Regions from separate parts of the Homo sapiens genome. Here regions 1, 2 and 4 are each linked to region 3. The links are contacts of gene promoters, found by promoter capture Hi-C in blood cells and fetal thymus (Javierre and others, 2016). All regions are on one chromosome and are shown on one strand. The core of a region is centred on a gene start or on the middle of the fragment in contact, and the rest is flanking DNA. Distances in the headings are between cores, read along the strand shown.

Evidence for each region. The method cuts DNA at HindIII sites, captures the fragments that hold promoters and counts their contacts. A CHiCAGO score of 5 or more calls a contact.
Region 1: the fragment with the promoter of ZNF674 here is called in contact with the fragment with the promoter of RP2 in region 3 in 1 of 17 cell types (neutrophils); the score reaches 5.6 in neutrophils.
Region 2: a fragment that was not itself captured here is called in contact with the fragment with the promoter of RP2 in region 3 in 1 of 17 cell types (monocytes); the score reaches 5.7 in monocytes.
Region 4: a fragment that was not itself captured here is called in contact with the fragment with the promoter of RP2 in region 3 in 2 of 17 cell types (erythroblasts and fetal thymus); the score reaches 6.2 in erythroblasts.

Annotation. Positions count from the first base shown.
Region 1 is chrX:46,543,791-46,547,275 of GRCh38, reverse strand. It overlaps ZNF674 (zinc finger protein 674), which reads left to right and starts at 1,855. Exons shown (of 6, transcript NM_001190417.2): 1 at 1,855-1,905; 2 at 2,665-2,775. ZNF674-AS1 (ZNF674 antisense RNA 1) reads right to left here and starts at 1,786. Exons shown (of 2, transcript NR_015378.3): 1 at 1,649-1,786; 2 at 1-810. RefSeq lists enhancers at 1,517-1,666, 1,282-2,481. The HindIII fragment of the contact is 22,375 bases long and covers 1-3,485 here.
Region 2 is chrX:46,565,951-46,569,173 of GRCh38, reverse strand. No RefSeq gene overlaps it. Among named protein-coding and RNA genes, the nearest start is that of CHST7, 6.2 kb to the left of the region's middle. The HindIII fragment of the contact is 1,074 bases long and covers 1,172-2,245 here.
Region 3 is chrX:46,835,692-46,838,834 of GRCh38, reverse strand. It overlaps RP2 (RP2 activator of ARL3 GTPase), which reads right to left and starts at 1,792. Exons shown (of 5, transcript NM_006915.3): 1 at 1,633-1,792. The coding sequence starts at 1,734. RefSeq lists an enhancer at 1,661-1,800 and a silencer at 2,111-2,190. The HindIII fragment of the contact is 11,862 bases long and covers 562-3,143 here.
Region 4 is chrX:47,092,388-47,095,866 of GRCh38, reverse strand. It overlaps RGN (regucalcin), which reads right to left. Exons shown (of 8, transcript NM_152869.4): 8 at 2,554-2,970. The coding sequence ends at 2,920. Among named protein-coding and RNA genes, the nearest start is that of RGN, 16 kb to the right of the region's middle. The HindIII fragment of the contact is 2,068 bases long and covers 524-2,591 here.

The DNA.
Region 1 (3,485 bases), core at 606-3,105, 290 kb after region 3:
ACACTGGATACTCTCCTGCCTATGGAAATCCACAGGGGCAGTTGCAGAGAGTGCTGCATGTTTCATAGTGTTGGGATAGGACAATGAAAACTAACATTTACCAGGTGCCTGCCACGGGCTATTCCTGGGCTTGAGGCTCTAAAGATGTCCCTTTGAACAATAACAACAGCCATCTAGGTTAGGTGGTCCTTAGCTATGGCAGAAAAGAGGGGACTGAGGCCCAAGAAGCTAGTAAGTGGTGGATTCCAGTCTTTTCTTCCAATGGATTAGTAGACACCAATGGCCCAGGAAGGGTGTTTCTTGATTTTTGAATACTAACATCATGAATAGCAAATGCTGGCATGGCAATAAGGGCATGCCCTGCATCTGGTCACATTCAAATCATCAGTCCCTTCTCTTTCTGCATAAACACTTGATCTTACAGAATCAGGATATGGAGAGATGCTGGCCAGGGCCACAGATCAGGTGCTTCTGCAGTTTGCAATTTCTTTACTCTCCTCAGGACATATTAACCCTATCATACTATTAACCCTTTTCTGCCTACTGATAGTGATATCTGAAAAGGTTATCAAATCACCTCTCCTCTAGAAATAAATAGGTTGGTATCTCTAAACCTGGCCATCAGTAACACATACACATGAAATTCTGAATGAGCAGTAATTCACTGCTCACATGTCCAAGGGAAAACAGGCTCTTTTCCTGGGACTTGTACAGGAGGCTTGGAGAGAGTCACTTCCCAGGGTCTGGCTGTATTGAGTTTGCAGATTTAGGTTGTAACTCATCCAAACTATCTGGGGAATGCAAGTTAACCTGAGAGGAGAAAGAGAAAGAGGAAAAACACTCATGTTCAAATGGAAATTAAATACGTGTCTGATAGATTACACAAATGTCTTGGACACATCTATGAACAGTGTCTGGCACCAGCTGGCTCTAGCACAGAAGGGTTTGCTGTGTACCTGAGGGAGACTCTGTCATACTTGACCCAAAGAGGCCCGCTTGGTGACCAGGCAGGCATAGTAAGCATGGAGAACAACACTTGTTCTCTTTCTCCCAGACCCAGACAGGAAACAGAAAACTTTCCTCAAGTTTACTACAGGCCTTTTTAGCGGGCCATGTTGCCACTGGCTGGCATTCTCAGAGAAAACACCTCTCCGCTAAAAAGTAAAATCCAGATTCTCCCAGGGTGTCTAAGATCCTAGGAACCGGAGCCCCACCACTGGGTAGAGAACAATCAGAATGAGGCTTTCTTCCCTCACTTCGGGAGGTTGCTGGCTCTGAAGCCCGGCTCCAAAGCCCCTCTTCCAGGCCACTTCCCCGACTGAGCCAGACCTGTTGCTCTTAGGACGCTCTGAGCCAGGCCTAGGGCCCCGCTCCATGTGGCCTGCCTGGACCCTAGAGGGCCGCGCTCTGGAGCTGCCACAGATGCCAGAGGCGCGACTCTTTTTCCTATTCCTAGGAGCGGAAGACAGAAACAGTGGCCTTGGGGACAGAGGGGTGGGAACACCCCACGTCCACTGCAAGAGAACGAAGTGGAAGAAGGGATTTCGGCTTCGGAGCCGGCAGGGGCCTGGGCACTGGAAAGCCCGCGCGGAGTTCTCTCGCCTCTCGCCGCCCAGGTACGCCTCCCCGGACCTTTTGTACGACTTACCGTTGGAAATGGTCACACATTCCTTCTCCCCTTAGAGCGAACACTGTCATAACCACTGAAGCGCGGGCCGAGGAGCGCCACATCGGCCACAGGCTTTGTTGCCCCGCCTTCAAAGCCACTGCGCGTGCGCATTGCTTTGACTTCACGTTCCCAGGGGGCTGTGGGAAGCGGAAATGCTCGGCTGACCCGGAGGGTGGCGCTTCGTTCACACTGGCTGTTGTCATCCGCCCCTGAGGTTTCAGGCTGTCGGCAGTGAAGTAAGCGGGAGGGTGAGGTGGTGATGGTTTTGATCGGGGGAAGGGGGGACGGGAGGAATGACGGGAGTTTACGGGGCCGTGGGGTCATGGGGCCACGGGTGAGCGTCCTTGTGGGGATTGAGTGACACAGGCGGTGGGCGTGAGTGTTGGGGGCGAGGTTCGGGGCCAGCGAGTGACTAATTGATTGAGTCACTCAGCGCTTGTATCCTCACCCGGTGGTAACTGCCAGACACTCTTGCAAATGTTTCACATTAGCAGGAGCCCTGTGAGGTGTTACGATGATTATTTTCATGTTATAGAGAGAAAACGGTACAGTGTGGCTTGGCAACCTGTCCAAAGTCCCGTAGGTAGCAAACCCGAGGAATCCTTTTTCTTTTTCTTTTCCTGTACTTTGTTTATCATGTTTATTGTTTCCAGTGTGTCTCTTCCTCCAGACTAGAAATCTGGAGCTGGGAATTTGAGATTTTGTTCACTGATGGATTTGCAACACGGAGAACCGGCTCATGGAAGGCAATCATTTCTTCAGTGAATAAAAGTGGCACAGCAGCCAGTCAGTTGATTCCAAAGCCCGGACTCAGGAAGGCAGGGTTTCGCTCACTGAGGATAATTGAGCTGTGCATGAATGTTAACTCTTAAAACTAGAATGAGGGGTTGTCCCTCTTCTGTTGGGTAAAAACCTTTGGGTTTCACTCAACTTCACTGCATGGAAGGGAGCATAGGTGTTGCTAATTGAATCTCCTGTGGTCATTGTGTTTCCAGGGTCAGAGTGCAGACCTGAGACCACTGCTCACCGATTTCAGACTCCAGTTTATCTGTGCCTCGGCTTCCCCACTTAGTCGCAGAAGACTTAGGCTGAGGCCCCAGGAAGAGGTGAGTTCCCTGGGTCACAGGCAGAGATCTAGTGCTATAGTGATGGCCCCAACTGGGGTGTGTTTGTCTCTGAATCCCTTGGTCCTGCCGCCTTGGACACAAGAGAGGTACGCTGAGCTGAGGCGAGTTGGAGGAGAAGCCTCAGCAAGAGCCCAGACCCAGATCCTCAGAGCAAAGGAGGCTCACGGGACAGCAGGTCCTAGAAGAGCTGGACCCGTAGTGGCCTTTGTCCCTCACTTCAGCTGAGACAGAGCAAAGCTGGCTCTACTTCCAGGTGCCATGGAGGACCATGTGACAGTGCAGTTTGATTCCTGCTGGAGGAGGGACAGGTGAAAGTCACAGGTGGATGGAGGCATGGATGTCCCCCATGGGGGCAGGTGCCCTGCTGTAGTACCTGCAAAGGCGGGATGAGGCTGGGAAGGATCACAGCCAGCCACAGAGGATTGGCCTCTCCTAGCACACCTATTTGTGCACCCCCATGCTTCCTTCTCTTGCCATTGGCTATTTCTGAATTTGAGTCAGCCCCACACCATCAACCAGGCACCTGCTTCCAGGGGAAATGCTGAGTGTCCGTTCATCCTGACCAAAGTGCAGAAAATATATTTTTAGTTTATAGAATTTCAGAGTAGTCTCTAGGTATGCTGTCATCCAGCTCTGCTGCCTTATTTCAATGCTTAATGAAAGTGGGCCAGGGGACATGACCTGCTAAG
Region 2 (3,223 bases), core at 459-2,958, 270 kb after region 3:
GCCAGATTCTAGCCCGCTGTTGCATCTTTCTGCCAGGTACCCTCACTCTGCCCTTCTCCTACCCTTGTCCTGTTGCCACTGGTTTCTCTACCCACTCCTCACAGCCCAGCTTCTTAGTAGAGCTGTCTATACTAGTTCTCTCTGTGCTCTCATCTCCTACTCATTCTGTGGCAGGCCAGGTCTCCCTAACGGCTGAACAGGCAGGCCTCCCTAACAACTGTTTCAGCACTGAGTGGTTAAGCTAACTATTAAAAGCTAAGAGAGCCAGTGCCCTTATACAAAGGCTGGAAGGTAACAAAAGCACACCAAGAGTTTTGCCTAGGTCTTTCCTGGGCCTTGAAGCGTGACAAGAGAAGGAAGGAGTTCTTAACAGGACCCATTTAAGATTAAACAAGTTTCTCTGGGTGCAGTGGTTCATGCCTGTAATCCCAGCACTTTGGGAGGCCGAGGCAGGCAGATCACTTGAGGTCAGGAGTTCGAGACCAGCTTGGCCAACATGGTGAAAACTCGTCTCTACTAAAAATACAAAAATTAGCCGGGCGTGGCATGCACCTGTAATCCCAGCTACTTGGGAGGCTGAGGCAGGAGAATCACTTGAACCTGGAAGGCGGAGGTTGCAGTGAGCCGAGATTGAGCCACTGCACTCCAGCCTGGGCAATGAGTGAGACTGTGTCTCAAAAAAATAAAATAAAATTTAAAAAGATTAAGCACATGTTATTAGTGGTCTGAAGGAACTCCCCAAACCTCCATGATTTAGCAGGAGATAAGATAAGGGCAATCACCCCAGCACCTGGATCCATTTAGATTAAGTAAATTTACTGAGGCTCCAGAGGAAGGTCTTCAGGACTCAGACCTTAGTTATAGATTAGAAGAAGTTAATCACTTATGTCTTTAGATGAATGCACACTTACACGTAGACATGTAGCTTAGAAGGTATGTAAGCTCTGGAAAACTTTGTAATTTTGAGTTGGTCTGGTGATAATTTCCAGGCCTTCTCCCTGCACCTGGTTACAGAAATAAAAACTCTCTTCTTTCCCAGTTCACCTGCATCTTGTAATTGGGCTGAGAGAATAAGCAGTCCGACCCTCGGCTTGGTCCAGGAACAATTCCTCAGCACACTCCAATCTGAGTTCTGCCCCCATATTGCCACATCATCAGTTCTTTCTAAGCTTATCAATGGCTTCCATGGTTTTTTTTTTTTTTTTGAGTTTAGCTAGGATCACAGATTCACACCACCACTCCCAGCTAACTTTTTTATTTTTAATTTGTGTAGATACGGAGTCTTCCTATGTATTCCAGACTGGTCTCCAATTCCTGGGCTCAAGCAGTCCTCCTATGTTGGCCTCTCAAAGTGCTGGGATAACAAATGTGAGCCACCATGCCTGGTGCCATGTTACTGAATCCAGGACACTTTCATGGCTCACCTTACTTGACCTTTCAATAACATTTTTAACTGACACATTGTAAGTGTACATATGTATCAATAACATTTAACACTGTTGACAGTTCCCACCTTCAAATCATCTCTTCTGCCAACTTCTATGACATCACATGTGAACTGTTCTCCTAGTTCATAGCTACACCTTCAGAGCATAGCATTTGAGAGATTGACCTTTGGAGTCAGGCCACCCAAGTTGATATCCTTTATCCTTTGGAGTGAGGCCACCCAAGTTCATAGGCCAGCTCCACCACTTCAGCTCTATGGCCTTGGGCAAGTAAGTGAACCTCTCTGTGCCTCATTTATCAAACATTAGTTCTAATAGTACCTATCCTCCCCTATCCTGCAGGGTTGTTGTAAGAATTAAATTATATATATATATATATATATATATATATATATATATATATATATGCAGTCATGTGCCACCTGATGTTTTGTCAATGATGAGCTGCATATACAAGGGAGGTCCCATAAGATTCTAATACCTTATTTTTATTGTACCTTTTCTATGATTAGATGATATGTTTAGATGCGCAAATATGATCTCATGTTACAACTGTCTACAGTATTCAGTACAGTAACATGCTGTACATATAGCCTAGGTGTGTAATAGGCTATCCCATCTAGGTTTATGTAAGTACACTTTATGATGTTTGCACAATGATGAAATCGCCTAACAACGCATTCCTTGGAATGCATCCCCATCATTAAACAATGCACAACTGGGTGTGGTGTGTGTGTGTGTGTGTGTGTGTGTGTGTGTGTGTGTATAATCCCAGAACAGTGTATCCCATAGAGTAAGCTTTAAGTCTTATGAGTCGGTACATTGTTGCTGCTGTGGGAAGCTGATTCCCCAGGCCCTCTTCCTTTTCACTTTATGATCTCTTCAATGACTCCAAATTGACATTTCCAGCCCCAGCCTCTCCTTGGGGCTCCACACCTAGAAATCCAGTTGCCCACTTGACATTCCCTCTTGGTTGCCTCAATGGCATATCAATTTTAATATGTGAATGATAAAACTATCTATTCTATTATGCAGTCAGAAACTTAGGAGCCATTCTGGGTATCTCCCTCTTCCTCAGTCCCTCTTCTTCAATCCAATCTATCATCAAGTCAGGTGGGTTTTACCTCCTAAATGTCCTTTCAAATCATTCACTTATCTTCATTGCCATTGCTACTACCCTAGCTCAGAGGACCAACTGTCCCCTAGAGCACTGTAGAAACTGCCTAGCCAGTCTCTGTTTCTATTTTGCCCTCTTTTAATTTTTTTTTTTTTTTTTGAGACTGTGACTCACTCTGTCGCCAAGCATGGAGCGCAGTGGTGTGATCTCAGCTCACTGAAACCTCTGCCTCTCAGGCTCAAGTGATCCTCTCTCCTCAGCCTCCCGAGTAGCTGGGATTACAGGCGCACACCACCACGCCTGGCTACTTTTTTTGTAGAGACAAGATTTCACCATGTGGCCCAGGCTGGTCTTGAACTCCTGGGCTCAAGCGGTCTGCCTGTTTCGACCTTCCAAAGTGCTGAGATTAAAGGCATGAGCCACTGCACCCGGCCTAATTTTTAATCAGTGATAGATTTCGGTCAATGCCATTTCTCTGCTCAGAATCTGTCTTGGCTTCCAATTGGTCTTTGGATAATGATGCAAATCATTAAGGTTTGAAAATTATGTTGTTAGAGGTCTTGAATGCCAGACCTTATCATGGTGTCAAGCACATAGTAGGTGCTCAACAAGCATTTGTTGTCTGATTGACTGCTGGGAAGAAGCACTTTACATTTGAGCT
Region 3 (3,143 bases), core at 543-3,042:
CTTAGATGTTGGTGTCCAATGTTATATTTCTCAATGCATTTACTTAGCCAATGGGCAAAAGAAGAAAAAAAATCACAGGACACACACACTTATCTAAAAGAAGGATTAACATGAGAAGTCCTAACTAACCTGAATATTATGTTAATAAACATTAACTGTAAAACAATTTATTGTGAAACGATGAGTCATAGGCAGCCAAGACTACTATAAATAAAAAAGGCATTTTATTTAGTTTAGATTTAGCCTGAGTTCAAAAGAAAAAACTAAAATAAAAATGAAATATGCAACTTTCTCTAAGGCAGACAATTCAAGCTAAAAGAACATTGTTAGAAAGCCAAAGGCTGAGGAAAACAATATCTTTTAAAAACCGCCCATCAGATAACTTTAAATGGCAGGTGCAATCTTCTTGTGAAATAGAAAGCATAGTACTTTCTTCCCCTACATTATAAAATGCTACTATCGAGTATGACTAACAGAGAATAAAGGTACCATGTGACCCAAGAAGGGTGTGTATGAGAAGTAGGGGCAGAAAGACGGGGCTGAGAAAAGCTGCAAAAAGCTTTCAATTTCCTAACTCTGACTCTTAGAGACCAGAGCTTACCTGAATACATTCTGCTGGGGATTGGAAATCATGCAGAAAGGTCTGTGATTCCAAAACGTTAATACATTTATTATAAAGTAATCTTGGGTAAAGATATGTTGCCTTAAGCAAAGAGTTAACTGTTCATAATACCCATTTGAAAAATCTCTCATTTTGTTTGGGAGAAATAATTGATAAGTCCATCAAAGTAGTTTAGTAAGCACAAATGGAGAACTATGTAGAAAGAGGAACTATTATGAAATGTATGACCGAGTGTGTTTTGTGTAAGACTAATGGAGGTTTTCAAAGGTTTTTCGTTTCTGGCTATATACAAAAATAAAAATAAGGGCGTTTTCATTCATTTAAACCAGCAGTAAAATACTGCCTGGTTTATGCCGCTTATTTTCACCTTACAGTCTTAATACACATTCCAAGACTGATGCGATATTCATTATTTCTTTCGGATAACTGGAAGAGGAGGGGGAGTAAAGCTGTACATTAAACAGTCCACTTGGTAATTGAGAAAATTCAGCAGTGAAATATATCATGAGGCACCAAAGAGATTTGCCGGGGAGGGCAGACAAAAGAGAAAACAGCCACAGAACATTAAGCCCCGGAAGAGATGAGAATCGGTCCCATATACGTAACTCGACGACTGGACAAAACCCCGCTTGACGCTGCCGGTGGGTGAAACGAGGTGATTTGAGATTCAGGGCGTTCTCGGCTCTTTCCCTCTCTCGAATCGATCATCTCCAACAGGAAGTCAGAGCAAGGCAGGGTTCGGAGTCAGAGAAAGCTCCCGGGGGAGTCTGTCTACCACGACAACAAACTCCTAAGGCTCCTTCCGGAGCTCCACAGCCCTCTGGGCGGCCTCTCTAGCGCTGTACTTCACGTCCCCGCTCCCCAAAAAAGTCGTGCACCCCGACTTCAGCTATCCGCGTTCAAGAGAGTGCGGCAGCAGTTGGGTCGGCCCCCTCAGCGGTCCCGGGCCGTAAGGGACCTGGCGGAGCGGCTCAGGGAGGCTGAGACGGCGGCTACACGACTTTCATTACCTTCTCGCGCTGATCCCAGCTGTACTGCTTTGGCCGCTCCTCCTCGTTCTCGGGCCGCGACTCCTTGTCAGCCTTCCGTCTCTTGGAGAAGAAGCAGCCCATGGTCCCAGCCCGCGGAGCTCGTTGGCCAGCTCACTAGCTCAGGCACTTCCTAGAGTGTGGCGTGAACCCTGGGAACCCCGGCCTCGCAGCTCTCCGGACAACGCCCCGCGGAACCGCCCAACGGTCCGCAGCCTTAGTTTGCCCGCCAGGCCCAGCACCCCTTCCCCTTTTTCGTCGCCCTGACGACCCAGCGCAGCCAATGAACGCTCAGCGCCTGTTGAGCCAATCAAAGCCTCTCGAGCAATCCTGCGCGGCCTATGAAGAGAGGCCGACATACCCACATACCAATCCACGCCTGGCTCCTGCGACAGCCCCTGGCGGCGGGGCGGGCCGGCTCTGGCGCAAGCACGGACAACCCCGCCCACAGCTGTGGCACGGACCGCCCTCGGCCCCGCCCCTCCTGGAACTTGGTGGGTTCTCTAGCTGGTGGGAGGCCAGGCTCGGTATCCGGGTTTTTTTTGCCCCTGATTCATAAATTTGCAAGTTCAAGGCGCGGGAGAGATCTCTAGTTGAACATTAGATTTATCTTATGATGAAAGTTGTGAGGGACAGAAATTCCCGCTGACACAAGAAGACCCTGAAATTTGTATTTCTAAATCCTCTTCTCCCCTCATCACCCTTCCTACCGCCCTCTCATCGCCTGGCCAGGGTCACCCCCTCAAGAATTGTACCCCATAACCTCCCAATCCTCTTCTGTGCTCTTTCTTTCTTTCTTTCTTTCTTTCTTTCTTTCTTTCTTTCTTTCTTTCTTTCTTTCTTTCTTTTTCTTTCACAGGGTCTCGCTATGTCACTCAGGCTGCAGTGGCACAATCATAACTCACTGCAACCTTGCAACTTTGCAACCTTGACTTCCTGGGCTCAAGCGATCCTCCTGCCTCAGCCTCCTTCCTGAGTAGCTGGAACTACAAGCAAGCACCACCATGCCCACCTATTTTTTTTTTTTTTTACTTTTGTAGAAATGGGGTCTTGCTATGTCGCCCAGGCTGGTCTTGAACTCCTGGGCCCAAGCGATCATCCTGCCTCAGCCTCTCAAGGTGCTGGGATTACAGGCAGGACCCACCGCACCCCAGGCTGCTTCTGTGTTTTCTTAAGACTTTCACATATGGCTCTAAAATTGCACAAGTACTTAGTAAAATAGTTAATTGTGTATTGTTTCCCTATTTGAACTGTGACTTTCTTGAGATCAAAAAGGTATATCTTTTTTTTTTTTTTTTTTTTTTGATGGAGTTTTTGCTCTTGTCGCCCAGGCTGGAGTGCAGCAGTGCCATCTCGGCTCACTGCAACCTCCGCCTCCCGGGTTCAAGTGATTATCCTGCCTCAGCCTCCAGAGTAGCTGGGACTGCAGGCGCCTGCCACTACGCCCGGCTAATTTTTGTATTTTTAGTAGAGACGGGGTTTCACCATGTTGG
Region 4 (3,479 bases), core at 308-2,807, 260 kb before region 3:
CAAAAATGAAAATACAATATATCAGACTTTGTGGGCTGCAGAAAGAGCAGTACTGAGAGGAAAATGTATAGCATTAAATGTTATTTTAGAACAGAAGAAATGTCTCAAATCCATAATCTGAGATTCCAATTTAAGAAACTAGAAAAAGAGCAAAATAAATCAGAATAAAGCAGAAGGAAGGAATAACAAAGATAAAAGGATAAATCAATGAAATTGACAACCAAAAAATGAAATCAAAAGCTAGGTCTTTGAAAGATCAATGCAACTGATAAACCTCTAGCAAGACTGACAAAGAAAAAAGACACAAATAACCAATAGCAGGTAAAAAAGGGGATATCACTACAAACCTCTCAGGCATTATTAAAAGGATAATAAGGAAATACTATTAATAACTCTACATACATAAATTTGACAACTTAGATGAAAAGGATCAATTCCTTGGAAGCCGCAAACTAACAGACCTCACCAAAATTAAGTAAGGCAACCAAGTGGCCTTGTCATTATTAAGGAATGTTAAAAAGCTTCTGAAAAAGAAATCTCCGGGTCCAAATGTTTTCGCTGATGAATTTTGCCAAATATTTAAAGAAGAATAATAATTATACATTTTCTTTTCCAGATAGTAGAAGAAGGAATACTTTCCAATTCATTTTATAAGGCCAGAATTACCCTGATGTCAACCACAGACAAAAGATAGTAGCTGCAAAAATCCTCAACAAAATATTAGAAAATGGAATTCAGCAACACATAAAAGTAGTAATATGTCATGACCAAGGGAGGTTTATCTCAGGAATGCAAGAATTGATCATATTAACAGTCTAAAGAAGGAAAACCACATAATCACATTAATACATGCAGAAAAGTAAATGAGAAGGGAACTTCCTCAATTTGAGAAAGGCCATCCACAAAAATACATATAACTAATATCATATTTAATAATAAAAGACTGCATGCTTTTCTCTTGAGATTGGGAACAAGACAAGGCTGTCTACTCTTACTATTTCCATTCAACATAATAGTGGCAATTTTAGCCAGTGTAATAATGCAAGAAAAATAAAAACATACAAACTGGAAAGAAAGAAAGAAAATTGTCTCTATTCACAGAAGACATGATTATACACCCAAAGAATCTCAGAGAAGCTACAGAAATACTCTTAGAACCAATTAGTGAGGTTAGCAAACTCATCAGATACAAAGTCAACCTATAAACGCCAATCACACTTCTATAAACAAGCAATGATCAACTGGAAACAAATCCAAAAAATAATAATAAGGTTGGGTGTGGTGGCTCACGCCTGTAATCCCAGCACTTTGGGAGGCTGAGGTGTGTGGATCGCTTGAATACAGGAGTGCAAGGTTGCAGTGAGCTATGATCGTGCCACTTCACTCTAGCCTGGCCCATAGAGCAAGACCCTGTCTCAAATAATAATAATAATAACATTTACAATAGCTCCCAAAAGTGAAATACTTGGATATAAATCTAACAAAACATGTACAAGATCTGTATGCTGAAACCTACAAAACACTGATGACAAAAATTGAAGAAGGCCTAAATAACGGGAGAGACATGCCCTGTTCATGGATAAGACTCAGAATAGTAAAGAAGTCAATTATCTCCAAATCGTTTTACAGATTTAAAGCAATTTCAGGCCTGGCGCGGTGGCTCATTCCTGTAATCCCAGAGCTTTGGGAAGTCAAGGCGGGAGGATCACCAGGAGTTTGAGGCCAGCCTGGGCAGCATAACAAGACTTCGTCTCTGAAAAGCAAAAAATCCAAAAAACCAACCAACCAAACAAACGAAAAAATGACCATAGTGGCACGCACCTGCAGTCTCAGCCCAGCTACTCGGGAGACTGACGTGGGAGGGTTGCTTCAGCCTGGGAGGTAGAGGCAGCAATGAACCATGATCGTGCCCCTGCACTCCGACCTGGGTGACAGAGTAGATCCTGTCTAAAAAAAAAAAAGCAATTCCAATTAAAAAATTGTAGCTTGATTTCTTTTGTAGATATCGTCAAGCTGATTTGAAAATTTATATGGAAGGTCAAAGGAATTAAAATAGCCAAAACAATTTTGAAAAAGAGCAAAGTTACAGAAATCACACTACCTAATTTTAAGACTAATTTATAGTGACAGAAAGCAGATCAGTGGTTTCCTGGGAGCAGGGGACAGGCAGGCAGAGGGGCTGAAGAAAAGGATTATGACAGGACAAGAAAAGTTTTGGGGTAGTGGATAGATTCATTATCTTGTTTGTGGTGTTGGTTTCATGAATGTATATATGTGACAAATTTGTCAAATTATACACTTTAAATATGTACAGGCCAATTATAACTCAATAAAGCTATTTTTAAAATAAGTATTCTTTCCAAAGAGACATATTACTTTTACATCCAGTAGGTGGCAGCTGGAACCATGGATTTTGACAGCATGTTTGAGTCTAACCCTCCAGCCGTATTTTAGTTTGTAAAATAACATATAGGAGATGAAATATCTATGTAGGTTAGTTAGCATTGTGGTATATTTTATAAGATTGTGATGAAAATAAAAAGGAACATAATAGGTCATTACCAGGTTACTATTTATTGTTCCTTGAAGCTTTAATATAGTTAAGTATGAAATGCAGAATCAAGAAGAGATATGTACCCACCCACCCTGGCAATTTACAAAGAATCAAGAGGCTGATTGACAGTTGAACGATTCTTCGCCCTTCTATAGTACCTTTTACAGAAAGCCTTATAAGTGTGTTATCAAAACCACCTGTCACCCCTTGTTAAAAATGCTCTGCCTTTTAAAAGTTGTAAATTAAAACTTAACGCTGTTAATAAAATCATTGCCTCATTTTTCTTTCTAACTAGATTGAAATTTCAGGCCCAGAATTCTCTAGTTGTCTTCAGAGCTCCCTCTGGCAGGAAAGAAGACCTGTCCTCATCCCGCATAGGAGTAGGGAGCAATTCCTTTGACCCCCAGACCAGTTATCTGTTGAAAAAGAAAAGAGGGAATCTCAGGTGAAAGGTAATTCACAAGTATTCTTCAAAAGCATTTTTATGATTTGTAGTAATATACTTAGCCACCTATTATCTTTGTTTTATCTCCTATCATAAAAAGGAATTACCTGACTGGATATTTATGGTCCAACCCAATTATTCATATAGTTAATAATTCAACTAGCAATCATTTACGACTAACTTAGATTTAAAACTGGATTACTCCTATCATCTGCCGCCTGCTAAGAAAGGGGTTTCTACATTATGTATTTCTTTTCAGCTCAAAAGCTCTACGATTTTTATCAGTGTTTATTCTGCTGCCAAAAGATGTTTAAAATCTGAAAAATCCTTAAGACATCAAAACAATCAACTGATCTTCTAGGCATGTTGTAAATACTGGCTTTCCAAGTTCATTCTACTGATCTGAAGAATTTCAATAAACAGGAAGTAAAAAAATTAATGTACAAAGTAGGCTAAACAGATCATCTTGGACTTCAGATA